Linked DNA regions of Homo sapiens: region 2 is linked to region 1. Evidence: promoter capture Hi-C in human tissues and cell types (Jung and others, 2019). All regions are on one chromosome and are shown on one strand. Each heading gives the region's core, a stretch centred on a gene start or on the middle of the fragment in contact. The rest is flanking DNA. Distances are from core to core; before and after follow the strand shown. Region 1 holds the start of ZSCAN32 (zinc finger and SCAN domain containing 32). Region 2 has its middle 5.8 kb from the start of SLX4.

Region 1 (3,466 bases), core at 375-2,874:
GGTAAATTGGGCAAATGTAAGATCAGAGTTGTCTCCAACTATGTCCCACTCTCTACTCCACTCTTCCATCACAGGAGTGAGCCTGTTTACAAGAGGACAATATACTCAAGTCTTGACAACATGTTTGGATCTCCAAGGCCAGTTTATGTAAGGCAATATTTTTTTAAGAGTTAATTTTAAAAATAGTTTTATATAATTTAAAATTAATAAATAACTTTTAAAAATAATTTTATTTGTTTTTTTATCTTTAGAGATGGAGTCTCACTCTGTTGCCCAGGCTGGTCTCAAACTCCTGAACTCAAGCAATCCTCCCACCTCAACCTCCCAAAGTGTTAGGATTACAAGTATAAGCCACCATGCCCGACCTTAAAAATAATTTTAAATAGAAGCTAACTTTTGTATTTTTTGTAGAGGTGGAGTTTCACTATGTTGCCCAGGCTGGTCTCAAACTCCTGTGCTCAAGTGATCCTCCCACCTTGGCCTCCCAAAGTGCTGGGATTACAGGTGTGAGCCACTGCACCCGCGAAGGCAGTCTTTTTTAATGAGTTTGTGTTGGTTTTTATCTACTTAAAACACAGATTAAAGCAGATCGTAATTTACATTTTCTCCAGGGGCTGATACACCCTCACCATGTGGTATTAAAATGGATCCAGCATGCACAACAAGATGAATATACTCAGGACTACTGAGCTGTACACTTAAAAATGGTTATGATGGTAAATGTTTTTTAAAAATTAAAGAAATTTTTTTATATTTTAAAAATGGATTTGGGTTCCCTTTTCTCAAGGAACTTGAACTGCCTTCACTTAAATTCTCTTTACATTTCAGTGCTTCTAGAGATAGAGAAATCAAGGGCATTATTATTGTTAGCACTGCTTTCTAGCCAAAAAGAAACTGAGAGCGATGAAGTATCTTGCCTAAAGCATCACACAGCACAGCTCCTAGGCAGCAAGGCCAGGACTAGAACCAGCACCCCTTGCCTTCATTATGTTCATCCTGTGCCTTACCTGGCTGAAGAAGAATTTAATAAAAGCTCTTCTAACTTCATGCAGAAGGCGGAACCTGCACCCTTCTTGACCCCTTTTGACCCCTTACCTCCCACTCATCGTTAAATTTTAAAATGCTGTTCTCTGAAAATTTTACTTCACTCTAGCGATGGCCCAAACACTCGGAAAAAAATGTAGCATGAGGATGGGGAGCCAGGTTGATAGGTTTTTCACTTAGTTAACTATTTATTGAGTACTCAGAACGCACTCGGTGCCAGGGCTAGGCACTGTGGATGAGTAGGGAGTGGGCGAGACAGGGACGAGATGAGCAGGGTCAAGGCCAGGGGGTCCCGGGGCGCCGGCGCTCAGGCTCGGGGTGATCCGCACGGTGGGAGCGGGGCACGGTGATCGCGGCGCGTCTGGGGACGCCCGGCCTGAGGGAGGCTGCCTGTCCCAAGGAGACGCCCATCGGGGCCGGACCCGAACGCCTCGGAGAAGACTCCCAGCGGGGAGGGGCTCCTCGGCCGTCGCAGGGCCCAGCGGCTAATCCCGCCGGCCGCAAGGAAGCGGAGAACTCACCGGACACCAGCACTCGCGACTCCACAAACTCCCTCAGCCTCCGGGCCGGAAGTCAGCGGCGCGATTCGCTCCGCCCATTACGCACGCCCCTGCGCAGGCCCGCAAGCCGAATTGCCGGACTGCAGCTCCCGGGATGCACTGCGACGGTATTGACAGGCGCAGCAACCAATAGACGGTAGAGAATGCCCTTGGCAGGAGGCGGGCCCTGTCAGTAGTTGTCCTCAGCAGCTAGTGGGCGTCTCCGCAGCGAGTGGCATCGGCCCCGCCCCCAGCCCGTGCTCGCCGGTGTCGGGTCCTAAGTCCCTCGGTCTTGGGTTCCCGGAGAGGTGAGTCGGCTGCAGGTGGGTGCGGGGCGCCGGGCTGTTCGGGGTACCGGTGTCGCAGTCGCCAGTCCGAGCTCACACCGGGCGTGGAGTTCAGCTGCGCATCGGGTTGCGGCAGCTTCGCCAGGCCTGGGGCTGGCTGGGCCGCGGGGCCGCCCTGGAGGCCGGAGCCACTGGGCCTGCGGCGCCTCGGCAGCGAGCAGCCGCTTTGCTCGCGTGCAGGAGGCTGTTCGCTACCTCACACCCCCGGCTGGCGCTGTGGCCTCGCTTAGCTCTACCGTTTAGCACCCGGCGACATGCACCCGGTCGGTTTCCGCCAGGATGCGGGAGAGTTGGGGCAAGCTACCTGCGACAGCTTGAACTTTTCCTAGGGATTCCGCTCCACCCGCCGGTTAGAGCGTATTGCTCATTAAATCCGAGACCTGTGTGCTTGCTACTGAAATAAAAGAAGTATTTTTTCCCCAGAGTCCTTTTAGGACGTTATGACTTTTCTCCTTTGCAAGACTGCAAAAAACTGACAAGAAGACAAAACTCTTCCCACTCCCAGGGACCGCGTTGTCTTGAGTTTGGCTAGTAAAGGCTAGCAAGTGAGGCTTTGTCTCTGCATCCCGTTCCCCCTAACATCCTCAGAGAACCTTCGTTTCTAGAATCTTTCTAGTATTCAGAGACTTCTCCAGGGTCATGATCCCAAAGGCTTAACCCGTTTACAAGGAGAGAGTTGTCTCCTGACGCCCAAAATGGCAGCTAAAATGGAGATAACTTTAAGCTCCAACACTGAAGCTTCCTCCAAGCAAGAGAGACACATAATAGCCAAACTAGAAGAGAAACGGGGCCCTCCTCTGCAAAAAAACTGCCCAGATCCTGAGCTCTGCCGCCAGAGCTTCAGACGCTTTTGTTATCAAGAGGTGTCTGGACCCCAAGAGGCTCTCTCCCAGCTCCGACAGCTCTGCCGTCAGTGGTTGCAACCCGAGCTGCACACCAAGGAGCAGATTTTGGAGCTTCTGGTGATGGAGCAGTTCCTGACCATCCTGCCCCCGGAGATCCAGGCTCGGGTCAGGCATCGATGTCCAATGAGCAGCAAGGAGATTGTGACCCTCGTGGAAGATTTTCACAGAGCATCCAAGAAACCAAAGCAGTGGGTAAGGAGGGTCCTCTCCCATCATCCTGGGGATTTCTTTTTCTTTTCTTTTTTTTTTTTTTTCTTTTTTTGAGACGGAATCTTGCTCTTTCGCCCAGGCCCGAGTGCAGTGGCGCTATCTCGGCTCACTGCAAGCTCCGCCTCCCGGGTTCACGCCATTCTCCTGCCTCAGCCTCCCGAGTAGCTGGGACTACAGGCGCCCGCCACCGCGCCCGGCTAATTTTTTGTATTTTTAGTAGAGACAGGGTTTCACCGTGTTAGCCAGGATGGTCTCGATCTCCTGACCTCGTGATCCGCCCGCCTCGGCCTCCCAAAGTGCTGGGACTACAGGTGTGAGCCACCGTGCCCGGCCGATTTCTTTTTCATCTGGGTAATGTTTGGTATCTGGATCTCTCCCTATTTAAGTCTCAGAAGTGGACTGGATGGCTTCAGAAGTTGCT
Region 2 (3,466 bases), core at 677-3,176, 220 kb after region 1:
TAAACCTTACAGGGTTTATCTGAAAGAGAAAATGGATGCAGAAGTACATGAAAAAACTGTGTTATTCCAAATAGATGTGCTGTTTTCCCAGTTCATAGGAGTCGGTAATTTTTGGGTTCAGGGCAAAAAGGCAAAGGTTGAAGATGCTGTGATGATCACGTCCTTACCCTCCTGGAATATTTCCTTTTTGAAAGCTTCTGGCATCTTCCACTGAGTTCATGTTTTAAACAGTTGGGAGGATGAATTGAAGGGCCCTTATCCCAGGTCTGTGGTTTGATTATAAATGGTAAAGCCATAACCTGTCCACCTCCCTCTCCTTTATCTTGACAGGGGTTGGGGAGACAGCAGATTGAACAAGGAAAGAATTGTCTCCTGAGTTCTTTGATCATGTTAACTTTTATTTACTGTTGTATAGTCACATTTTCTAGACTGCTAAAATTGGTGAAATCAGGACAGGAAATAACTGTTTTTACGTGTATAAGTATACAAAAGTTATTCGAGATGAGTTACACTGCATTTCTTTCAGTGTGCTGCCTGCCACTGCTGCCTTTGTGTGATTTTGCTCTATATGTTCTGCTAGACAAATTTAAGGGAGGTTTCAGACAGCAAAACTCCCCCCAAAGCATCTACCAGCATAATCCCTATCAAAATCCCAACAACGTTTTAATTTTTTTGCAGAAGTGGAAAAACCGATGTTAAAATTCATATGGAATTGGCCGGGTGCGGTGGCTCACGCCTGTAATCCCGGCATTTTGGGAGTCTGAGTCAGGCAGATCACTTGAGGTCAGGAGTTCGAGACCAGCCTGACCAACATGGTGAAACCCCATGTCTACTAAAAATATAAAAATTAGCCGGATGTGGTGGCAGGTACCTGTAATCCCAGCTACTTGGAAGGCTGAGGCGGGAGAATCCCTTGAACCCAGGAGATGGAGGTTGCAGTGATCCAAGATCACAACACTGCACTCCAGCCTGGGTGATACAGTGAGACTGTGTCTCAAATAAATAAATTAAATAAATAAATAAATAAATTCATATGTAATTGCAAGGGGCTCTTAATACCCAAAACCCAAATAGCCACTTTGTTCTTTTTCAAGAACGTACTTCCTTATATCAAAACTTATTACAAGCTATAGTAATCAAGACTGTGTGGTACTGTACCAGCATAAGGATAGACATATGGGTCAGTGGAAGAGAATTGAGAGTCTAGAAATAAACCCTTATATTTATGAGCAATTGATTTTGTCCGGGATGCCAAGACTAGTCAATGGTGAAAGAGTAGTGTCTTCCACAAATGGAGCTGGGATAACAGGATATCACATGCAAAAGAATGAAGTTAGACCCTTACCTCATATCATGTACAAATATTAACTCAGAATGGATCAAAGACCCAATGGAAGAGTGAAAACTATAAAACTCTTAGAAGAATACAAGGGTAGGCTGGGCGTGGTGGCTCACCCCTGTAATCCCAGCACTTTTGGCATCACCAGAGGTCAGGAGTTTGAGACCAGCCTGACCAACGTGGAGAAACCCCGTCTGTACTAAAAATACAAAATTAGCAGGGCGTGGTGGTGTGCGCCCGTAATCCCAGCTACTCGGGAGGCTGAGGCAGGAGAATCGCTTGAACCCGGGAGATGGAGGTTGCGGTGAGCCGAGATCGCACCACTACGCTCCAGCCTAGTCAACAAGAGCGAAACTCCATCTCAAAAAAAAAAAAAAAAAAAAAAAAAAAGAATACTACAAGGGTAAATCTTTATGACCTTGGAGTTGGCAGTAGACTCTAGATATGACACTAAAAGCAGAAACAACAAAAAATAATGAATTGGATTTAATCAAAATTAAAAACTTTTTTGTGTAAAAGTATACTATCAAGAAAATGAGAAGACAACCCACAGAATGGGAGATATTTGTTAATCATATACCTGATAAGAATCTATGCTGCTGTCTAAATGTTTATGTCTCCCCCCACCCAATTCATATGTGAAGGCCTCAACCGCAAGGTGATGGGATTAGTGCATAAGGATAAGGATGGAGGCCCTTGTGGCCATGTGTGGTGGCTCATGCCGGTAATCCCAGCACTTTGGAAGGCGGAGGCGGGAGGATTGCTTGGGCCCAGGAGTTTGAGACCAGCCTGGGCAGCAAGGTGAGACTCCATTTTTACAAAAATTTTTTTAAAAAAAGAAAAGAGGCCCAAGAGAGAAACCCCCTACCCTTTCTGCCATTAGAGGAAGTGGGCCTTCACCAGACAGAGTCTGCCAACACCTTGATCTTGGACTTCCCAGCCTCCAGAACAGTGAGAATTTCTGTTGTTTATTAGCTACCCAGTCTGTGGTATTTTGTAAGAGCAGCCCAAATGGACTAAGACATTCTAGTAGCACAATATAGAAAGAACTTTTACAACTCAATGAAAAGACAACTCAGAAAATGGGCATGGTAGAACTTGTCCTGTGAAGAAGCCAAGACCAAAAAAAAAAAAAAAAAATGGACATAGGACTTGAATAGACATTCCAAAGAGTGGCAGGTGCCAACAAGCACATGAAAAGATGATCAGCATCATGAATCGTTAGAGAAGTGCAAATTGAAACTGCAGTGAGATACCACTTCATGGCCAGTAGGACAGCCATTTCCTAAAAAAAAAAAAAAAAAAGTATTGGTGAGGATGTAAGGAAGTTAGAACTCTGATACATTGCTGGAGGGAATGTAAAATGGTACAGCTGCTGTGGGAAACAGTTTGAGGTTCCTGAACAAGTTAAAGATAAAATCATCATATGATTCAGCAATTCCGCTTCTAAGGATATGTCCCAAAAAATTGAAAAAGTGTTTAAGGGCCAGGCGCGGTGGCTCACGCCCGTAATCCCAGCACTTTGGGAGGCCAAGGCGGGCGGATTACCTCTGGTCAGGAGTTTGAGACCAGCTTGGCCAATATGGTGAAACCCCGTCTCTACTAAAACTATAAAAATTAGCCGGGCTTGGTGGTGGGTGCCTGAATCCCAACTACTCGGGAGGCTGAGGCAGGAGAATCACTTGAACCTGGGAGGCAGAGTTTATGGTGAGCTGAGATGGTGCCATTGCACTCCAGCCTGGGCAACAAGAATGAAACTCCGTCAAAAAGAAGAAATGCTCAAACAAAAACGTGTACACCTCATATTCAGTCTAAATGCCCTTCAGTGCATGAATGAACAAAATGTAGTATAGAATGGAATACATGTTACACTGAACATTTGCTTATTTCCGTTTTGTAATTTTTTTTTAGTGACAAGGTCTCATTTCTGTTGCCCAGGCTCGAGTACAGTGGCACAATCATGACTCATGGCAGCCTCAGACTGCCAGGGATCAAGTGATCTTTCTGATCTTCCCAACTTCCTTATCTTCCTGACTCAGCCTACCTGTAGCTAGAGCTAGAAGGGCCCCTGGGTAATTTTTTTTTTTTTGAGACGGGGTTACACTCTATCATCCAGAATGGAGTGCA

The links. The method cuts DNA at HindIII sites, captures the fragments that hold promoters and counts their contacts. A contact is called where the count stands out against the background at its distance.
Region 2: a contact is called between a fragment that was not itself captured here and the fragment with the promoter of ZSCAN32 in region 1, in 1 of the 25 tissues and cell types used here (spleen).

Annotation. Positions count from the first base shown.
Region 1 is chr16:3,399,380-3,402,845 of GRCh38, forward strand. It overlaps ZSCAN32 (zinc finger and SCAN domain containing 32), which reads right to left and starts at 1,625. Exons shown (of 7, transcript NM_001284527.2): 1 at 1,566-1,625. ZNF174 (zinc finger protein 174) reads left to right here and starts at 1,836. Exons shown (of 3, transcript NM_003450.3): 1 at 1,836-3,027. The coding sequence starts at 2,626. LOC105371059 (a long non-coding RNA gene) reads left to right here. Exons shown (of 4, transcript XR_007064949.1): 3 at 1-147; 4 at 252-290. RefSeq lists silencers at 1,263-1,412, 1,963-2,182 and an enhancer at 1,386-1,885. The HindIII fragment of the contact is 10,964 bases long and covers 1-3,466 here.
Region 2 is chr16:3,615,625-3,619,090 of GRCh38, forward strand. It overlaps a transcript of DNASE1 not described here. Among named protein-coding and RNA genes, the nearest start is that of SLX4, 5.8 kb to the left of the region's middle. The HindIII fragment of the contact is 7,289 bases long and covers 1-3,466 here.